Linked DNA regions of Homo sapiens: region 1 is linked to region 2. Evidence: promoter capture Hi-C in 16 types of primary human blood cells and fetal thymus (Javierre and others, 2016). All regions are on one chromosome and are shown on one strand. The core of a region is centred on a gene start or on the middle of the fragment in contact, and the rest is flanking DNA. Distances in the headings are between cores, read along the strand shown. Region 1 has its middle 180 kb from the start of SMAD2. Region 2 holds the start of ELOA2 (elongin A2).

The links. The method cuts DNA at HindIII sites, captures the fragments that hold promoters and counts their contacts. A CHiCAGO score of 5 or more calls a contact.
Region 1: a fragment that was not itself captured here is called in contact with the fragment with the promoter of ELOA2 in region 2 in 1 of 17 cell types (total CD8 T cells); the score reaches 5.7 in total CD8 T cells.

What each region holds. Positions count from the first base shown.
Region 1 is chr18:47,749,732-47,753,348 of GRCh38, forward strand. No RefSeq gene overlaps it. Among named protein-coding and RNA genes, the nearest start is that of SMAD2, 180 kb to the right of the region's middle. The HindIII fragment of the contact is 555 bases long and covers 1,107-1,661 here.
Region 2 is chr18:47,033,400-47,037,299 of GRCh38, forward strand. It overlaps ELOA2 (elongin A2), which reads right to left and starts at 2,222. Exons shown (of 1, transcript NM_016427.3): 1 at 1-2,222. The coding sequence starts at 1,865. The region is part of intron 3 of KATNAL2 (katanin catalytic subunit A1 like 2); the gene reads left to right. The HindIII fragment of the contact is 9,917 bases long and covers 1-3,690 here.

The sequences.
Region 1 (3,617 bases), core at 134-2,633, 720 kb after region 2:
GCCTTTCTGGTGGATTTGCGGACCACTGATAGGGTCGTTAACAAGAGCCTCCCATACCTGCTACTGGGATGGCCGCTACTGGGCTCGGCCGCAGTTTTCAGGGTAAGTTTGGGCCCTCAGCCTGTGTGTGTCTCAGCCCTCCTCAGACCAAACCACAGTCATTGACTTGGTCTCCCTGCTCAGTTGTCAGTCTGACACAGATACACACATATACACACACATGCACACACACATATACACACATACACACATATACACACATATACATAAACATACATATACATGCTTATACATACATATACATACACACATTTATACAAATATACATACACACACATATACATACACACATTTATACAAATATACATACACACACATACACATACATACACACATACACATATACATACACACACTTATACATACATACACACGTTTATACACACATACACATATATACATACACTTATAAACCCATATACATACACACATTTATATACACATATGCATATACATACACACATTTATACACATATGCATATACATACATTTATACACACATATTCATACACTTATACACACATGCATATACATGCATACACATACATATACACACATACACACAGATATAAACACATATACACATGTATACAAAGATATGCACACACATACACCCATATACACATACACACATATACACATATACATACACACATGCACACGTATACACATGCACACATCTCATATATATGCATACATATACATGTACACATACATATAGACATACACACATGTACATACACACACACACACACACCACACTGGGAGCTGCTGAGGGGCAGGCCCCTCTTGGTGCCTGACGCCTGGAGTAGCCACTCACTAAATGCTGGATGAATCAATACCTGGAACAGGCTGGATGCCCACCTGGGGGAAACAGCACCTAGGGATGGGAAAGCAGGGTGTAAAGCTGTGGCCAAAAGTACCAGCAAGAACCAGAGAGGGATCTAGTGATGCCCCAAGGGACCGAGGACCCTACGGGCTGGGAGGTCAGGAAAGAACCCTGGAGGAGGCAGGGTCTCCACTGGCCCCTGGAAGCTGACACTAGAAGCTTAGAATGAGGACCTGGAAGCTCAGAGGGTTTCTAGTACCCCCCAATCCCTCAGTAAGGGGAACTGGGAGGGGTGGCCTCCAACAAGAATCAAACTACTGCTCCCCTGTCCACCAGCCCTCACATAACCGTGCCCTTTCCCGACACCAAGGCAAAATCCCACCCTCTTCTGTTTTAAAGCAAGCTGAGGGGGGCGGTCAGTGTGAAGGGGGTTGTCCCTCCTACCCACTGCACTGATGCCTTGGCACTGCACTGATGCCCTGCCCGGAACCTGCACTGATGCTCTGGCGCTGCACTGATGTCCGGGACCTGCACTGATGCCCTGGCAGTGCACTTTCTGCCTGGGACCTGCAGACTTCCCACATGCTCCTCATCTCCACCTGCCAATCATCAACCACATGGAGTCCGCTGAGAGTCTTGCTCCTCCTGCCTCTGCCCTCAGGCCTGGGACCTGAGTACTTCAGTGCTGAAGAAAACCGACCAAGGAGTCCTGGCTGGAAACCAAGCCATGTGCTGTCCTGCCAACCCCCATGCATCCTCCCCACAAGGCTGAAGCTTTTGCTAGAAAACACCCCACATGGTTAGAGAATGGGTGTTAATGACATGAAATGGGCACTCCCTCCCCAGAAAGCCTTCCCTGGCTTACTCATCATTACAGGACAACCTTGGAATCTATGGCATAACCTGACAGATATGGCTTCTCCATCATATGATTGATCTAAATCAGTGGTTTCAGAGGGAGCCTCTTGCTGGCAGGTTATATCCATGGGTCTCAGCGGGAAATGTGTGGATGAGGAGGGGACAAGGCCTTTTGGGTACCACCCCTCCTTAAACAAGCAGCTCCACCTTCACATCTACAGAGGCCATACAGCCTGGTAACCACATGCCTAGGCTAGGAACCAGGCTACCTGGGTTCAATTCCTAGCCTTTTCACTGACACTGTGTGACCATGAGCAAGTTTCTTAACTCCTCTATGCCTCATTTTCCTCATCTATAAATTAAGATGTTAGTAGTAACCTAACTCAAAGGATTGTTGGGAAAAGTAATTGAATTAACACAGGTAAAGTGTCTGGCATACGGTAAACGCTCAATGAATGTTAGCTATTAATATTAACTGGTGTATACAATGGAATTCTACATATGCTTGAAATAAGACCAAAACATGTTTGAAAACCCACTAGATTTCATGATCTCCAAGGTCCCTTCTGGCTCTAAAATTCAATAATTTTAAGGTGATATCTTTTAACTGTCACTTTTGCATCTCCAAGCCCTAGCACCTGCTGTTCTCTGCCAGATACACCATTTCCTACTGTCTGCCTAGTGAACGCTGACTTCTCCTTCCTGCCTCAGTTTAATAGCTGCCTCCTCCAGGAAGCATTCTCTCCCTGCTCCAGGCAGAATCGGTCCAGTCTTTCCTTCCCACATGTTCCTTGCACACTTTTAAAATAATACAGAGTCCCTGATACCTATGCTGTCCCATGCTTCTGTTTCCTTTTTGCCCTCTTGCAGGACCCACAGACTCCTGGAGAGCCTACTCATGTCTATAGCCCCCATGCCTGGCCTAGAACAGGCAATTGCCTAGAACAGGCAATGTACTCATCAGTTTTTTGTTTTTTGTTTTTTGTTGTTTTCTTTGAGATGGAGTCTTGCTCTGTCACCCAGGCTGGAGTGCAATGGCATGATCTTGGCTCACTGCAACCTCCGCCTCCCAGATTCAAGCAATTCTCCTGCCTCAGCCTCCCAAGTAGCTGGGAATACAGGTGCGCACCACCACGCCCAGCTAATTTTTTGTATTTTTAGTAGAGACGGGGTTTCACATGTTAGCCAGGATGGTCTCCATCTCCTGACCTCGTGATCCACCAGCCTCGGCCTCCCAAAGTGCTGGGATTACAAGCATAAGCCACCGCGCCTGGCCACTTATCAGTTTTATAGTGAGGAAACTGAAGCACAGAGGTATGAAAAAAATGGCTGGAAACACTCAGAGTCAGAGCTGGGAGGAAGAACCAGGCCTCTGGACCACTAGACAGGATCTGAGGCTTCTCTCAAGGGCAAGGGTCAGGGCAGGGAGGGTGTCACCATCTCAATTCCAGGGCAGGCTTTGGCACAGCCAGGTGGGGCAGGTGCGGGCATCTCTATTAGGGCTGAGAAGGACTTAGATGAGGGACCAGCCCCACCACCAAACACAGAGGCAGTAGCATCGCCGATGGGGTCTGGGGATGCCATCTCACACCTGGACCATTGCAGTAGCTTCTAACTGTCCTCCACACTTGCCCCATGTCCCCGCCTCTATCCCTCCACCTGCCACATGCCAGCCAGAATGACCTGGTGAAACATGGGTAGAATCAGGTCCCTCCCTGCTCAAAACCCCCACAGCCCATCTTATTCACCATTAAAGCCAAAGTCCTCTCAATGGCCTCCAAGGCCCCACATGCTCGAATCCAACCACAGCTTCTACATTTCTCCTCCCTGCTCATTTTGTTCCAGCCAGGCTGGCCCACTCAACAGATAC
Region 2 (3,900 bases), core at 972-3,471:
ATTACTCTCAGCCGCTGCTCTGGGGCGTCCGGAAGCCGCAGGTACTGCTCCCTCCAAGTTTTGTTTTCCTGTGGCTTTTCTTCCTTGAAGTCCTGGAAACAATGATTCCTCCGTAATTCGTCTGTCTCTCTAACGAGTGCGTGATTGTCTTTCTTTCTGCGATACAGCTGATCGGGCCTCCACCCTTCCAGAACAGGTTCAAGAACCCAGTAGGGGACCTCTCCCACGTCGCTGAGGGCGTCCGGATTGTTTCTAAGCACCTGGGCACACTGCTGGCGCAGCGTCGGCACCTGGAGCTGGCAGGCAGGCCTGGAGCCCGAGTACACCGGCATCTTAGCATTCACTCTGCGTCCAGGGAAAGCAGCTTCCTCCCGGAACTTTGGTGAAGAGAGTGCTTCTGGCTTTGCCTGGGAGGTCATGGAGTCAGAATCCGAAAGCGGATCGTAGTTGGCCTGCATCCAGGCCTCTGAGAGGTCCCAGAGCTCTGAGAAGACATGGCTGGGCACCGTTTTCGGCCCGGCGGAATCAGCGCCGGCCGCCTGCAGCCTCTCTGACTGGCTTTCCTGGACAGGAGGCAATTTCTTAGCCGAATCCCAGGACTCACGAGTGCCCTTGGATTCGTTTGCTTTCCTTTGTTTATCTCCAAGTGCAGTGGTGGCAGATTTTCCAGTCTTTTTCTTTTGCTTCCGCAACTGATCGTAGGTGAGGTATTTTTCACATGACAGAGTGGGCTGCTCGAATTCCTCAGCCATATCTACCTCCTCCACCTCAGAGAGGGAGCTCACGGACGTTCTGTCCAAATGAGCAGTCGGTGGCTTCCCCTCTTGAGTCTCTCGGTCGTTGGAAAGCTGCTCTTTCTCCTCGGGCGACAGGCCGTGTGTCCCATTTCCTGGGTCCCGGCCGTCTAGACTGGGCCTCTTCTTGTTCGAGTGACTGTGCTGAGGCCTCTTCTGGTGACTGTCTGGAGCCTCCTCCAAGGCAGGGACACGCTGGCCGCTGCCAGCTTGCCCCCCTTCCTTGTCTGTCTTGAAGTCCGAAGGCTGCCTGTCCCTGGCACTTGCCCAGGAGGGCATCCTTGGGGTTTCCTCTCTTAAGCAGGCCCCGCATGATTTCTCCCTGATCAAAGTAGGGGAGTGCCAATCTCCCTGGGCACACAAGGGGCGTTTTTCCTGGCGAGACGATTTGTGCCCCTTGCTGTGGCTCACAACGGCTTTCCCCTGGGGTTGGCCCTGGCAGCCTGGACACAGCAGAGGCCCGCCCTGAGCCGCGTGAGTGTGGCCTCTTCCGGGTTGCTTCCCGGGCGCAGCGGGCTCAGGGCCCTCGGGCATCCGGAGGGGAGCTGTGCGCGTTGGAGAGGCCCGATAGCGGCCGGAATCAGCTGGGGCTATTCTGGGGCACTTTCTCTCAGCTCTGGGCTCGCGACTGTGAGACCTCGGGTGAGGTCTCTGTTGCCCCGGAGGTGTTCTGCGTGCTGTCCGTCTGTGCTCAGGGCTGTGAGATGGGCTCCTGGGGGCCGTCGCGTTTTCTGGGAAGCCCCAGGCCTTTTCCTGGTCCTGAAGAGCCTCCCCGAAGCGCTGTCGGGAAGCGCTCTCCTCAGGGTCCTGTGGGCCAGGCCGGGTGTTTCGGTCCACGAGCACCAGCTTCTTCCACCGGGCCGCTAAGTCTCTGGCAAAGTCGCCCACGTGCTGGTGCTTCCGCAGGCGCTTCACCGTCTTTCTGATTCCAGTCTCCGCCAGGATGTCTGCCGTCATGGGCAAGGCGGAGAGTTTCTGCAAATATTTCTCTAGCTTTTTCGGCTCCGTCTTAGTGGCCAGACGCACCTGCAGCTTCTCCACTGCGTGCAGCGTAGTGGACCCTGCCGCCATCTCACCAGAGCTGTGCAGGCGTCGCTGTCCCGGCGGTCGCAGCTCTGTCTTTGGGGCTGCGGGACAGGAAGTCTGGGGTGGCCGGTCCTCGCTGCCCGGTCGCCAGGCAGCGACCTCGGGATGTGGAGTCACAGCCTGGAGCGAGCTGGGTCCTCGGAGCAGCAGGCCACTTGGTCTGGAACGGCCGTCCTTGCAGACAGCTGAGCAGGCCCGCTTTTGTTCCTCGGGATGTGGAGCCACAGCCTGGAGTGACCTCTGCAGTTTGCTGTGCAACAAAGAATGAAGCTCTGGTGCCAGAGCTGGGCCTTATGTAGCCCATCCCAGGCTGACACTCACGGCTCTAGCCCTGACCCTCTTAGCTCTTGGGCTGCCCCGCCCCCATACGTACTCATGCCGTCAGCACAATGCAGACAATCGGGACGGTCCACGCCAGGTGGACTGCTGTGCCCCAGAGGTTGATTAGGTTAATTTCAGCCTCGACACACCCCACTGAGTTTTACCGTTGACCTTCCATGTTCGCAGGTTCCACATCTGTGAATTCCAAAAAACACAGACTGAATCTTCTTGGGAGTAAAACAGAAAATAACACAGCAAGACAAAATCATAGAAAGAAGAACCAATACAGGATAACAACTCTTTGCCTAGGACTGATGTTGTGTGAGGGGACTTCCCAAATTTGTCAAAACAGGGATTAAAAGACAAAAATAAAACCGGTAGATTTTATTTCTTAACATCTGCTCCATCAATTTCGAGACAGTAGTTCGAGCACTGTCTTGACCCCGCCTTGTCCCTCAAGCCCTGATGTTTCTGGGAATTTAACTATTTCCAAGAAATCTTTTTTCCATTATTAACTGAAGAAAACTGGGTGCCGTTTGCAGAATTTTTAATACGAGGAAATAAATAGAAGTCAGCAGGTTCCACATCATGACTGCAAGGTGGACGCCTCATGATCTCCTTTTGAAACTCTTGCCAAACTGCCCTTTGTTCAGTGAAATGCTACAGCAAGAACTTTTTCATGATTAGGTAGAACTCTCTGGTAATGGTTTTTCTGCTCATGCTTTGGCTAGTTTTCTCAAAAACTCTGTTAGTAAGCATATTTGATCTTGGTTTGGCCCTTCAAAAAGTCTTTTAGTCATATCTTTTGAGCATTCCCCAAAACTGTTGCCATGACCTCTTCTCTTGACTGGTCCTCTCTGTCTTTGACTGGAGTGCTGCCACCTTTTGGTAGCCTTTGTTTTGTGCTCTTTCTTCAGGACTATCCAGTGTAGCCATGTTTTATCCCCGCTTACAAATCTTGGAATAAATATTTCTGGATCTTCTTCCACCTGTTTTAAAACTTTAAAGAAATTTTTACTCTTGTCTCTAGCTATTATTGTTGAAACAGATTTGGTATCTGGATCGGACTTTAATTTTCAGTGACAATTATTAAAACAGGATCATTTGAAATATCTATGGTTTTTTCTCTTATTTCTGTTGTTACTTATTTACCCTCTCAAATTAGGGAACACTTGGTCCTATGTTTCTGAGCATAGTTGACCAATTCTGACATTGTATTAAATTCAATAAATGTCTTTTCTGGATCTGTAGACACTTCTTTTGATATTTCTAGCATTTTTTTGGGTTGTACAGCATTTGAAAGTTAGGAAGTTTCCTGGCAGAGCCAGGAGATAGTCAGGAAACAAACAAGAAACAAATTAGAACCTACAGGTATATATATTCAACCTTTTAGGGGAATATTAGATGCAGGGACTGTAAAACAGAAGTATAGTAAAGACATTTGAAAGAAGTGATGTATGCTTTTTAACTGTTTGTTTTTGAGATTGAAAGCTTAATGCAAAATTTGGATCTTATTACTGAAATTGAAACGAGCTCATGCAAATTAATCTCCATTGCACCCGTAAAAAGGAAATTAAAAGCACTAATGTTGCATGTGGTGTATATACAGTAACATTTCCTAAATATCTTCTGGGTCTAAAACTGGGAATGATATTCAATGCTTCCTTTTCCTCAGGCTATGGTATCATAGGATTCAATT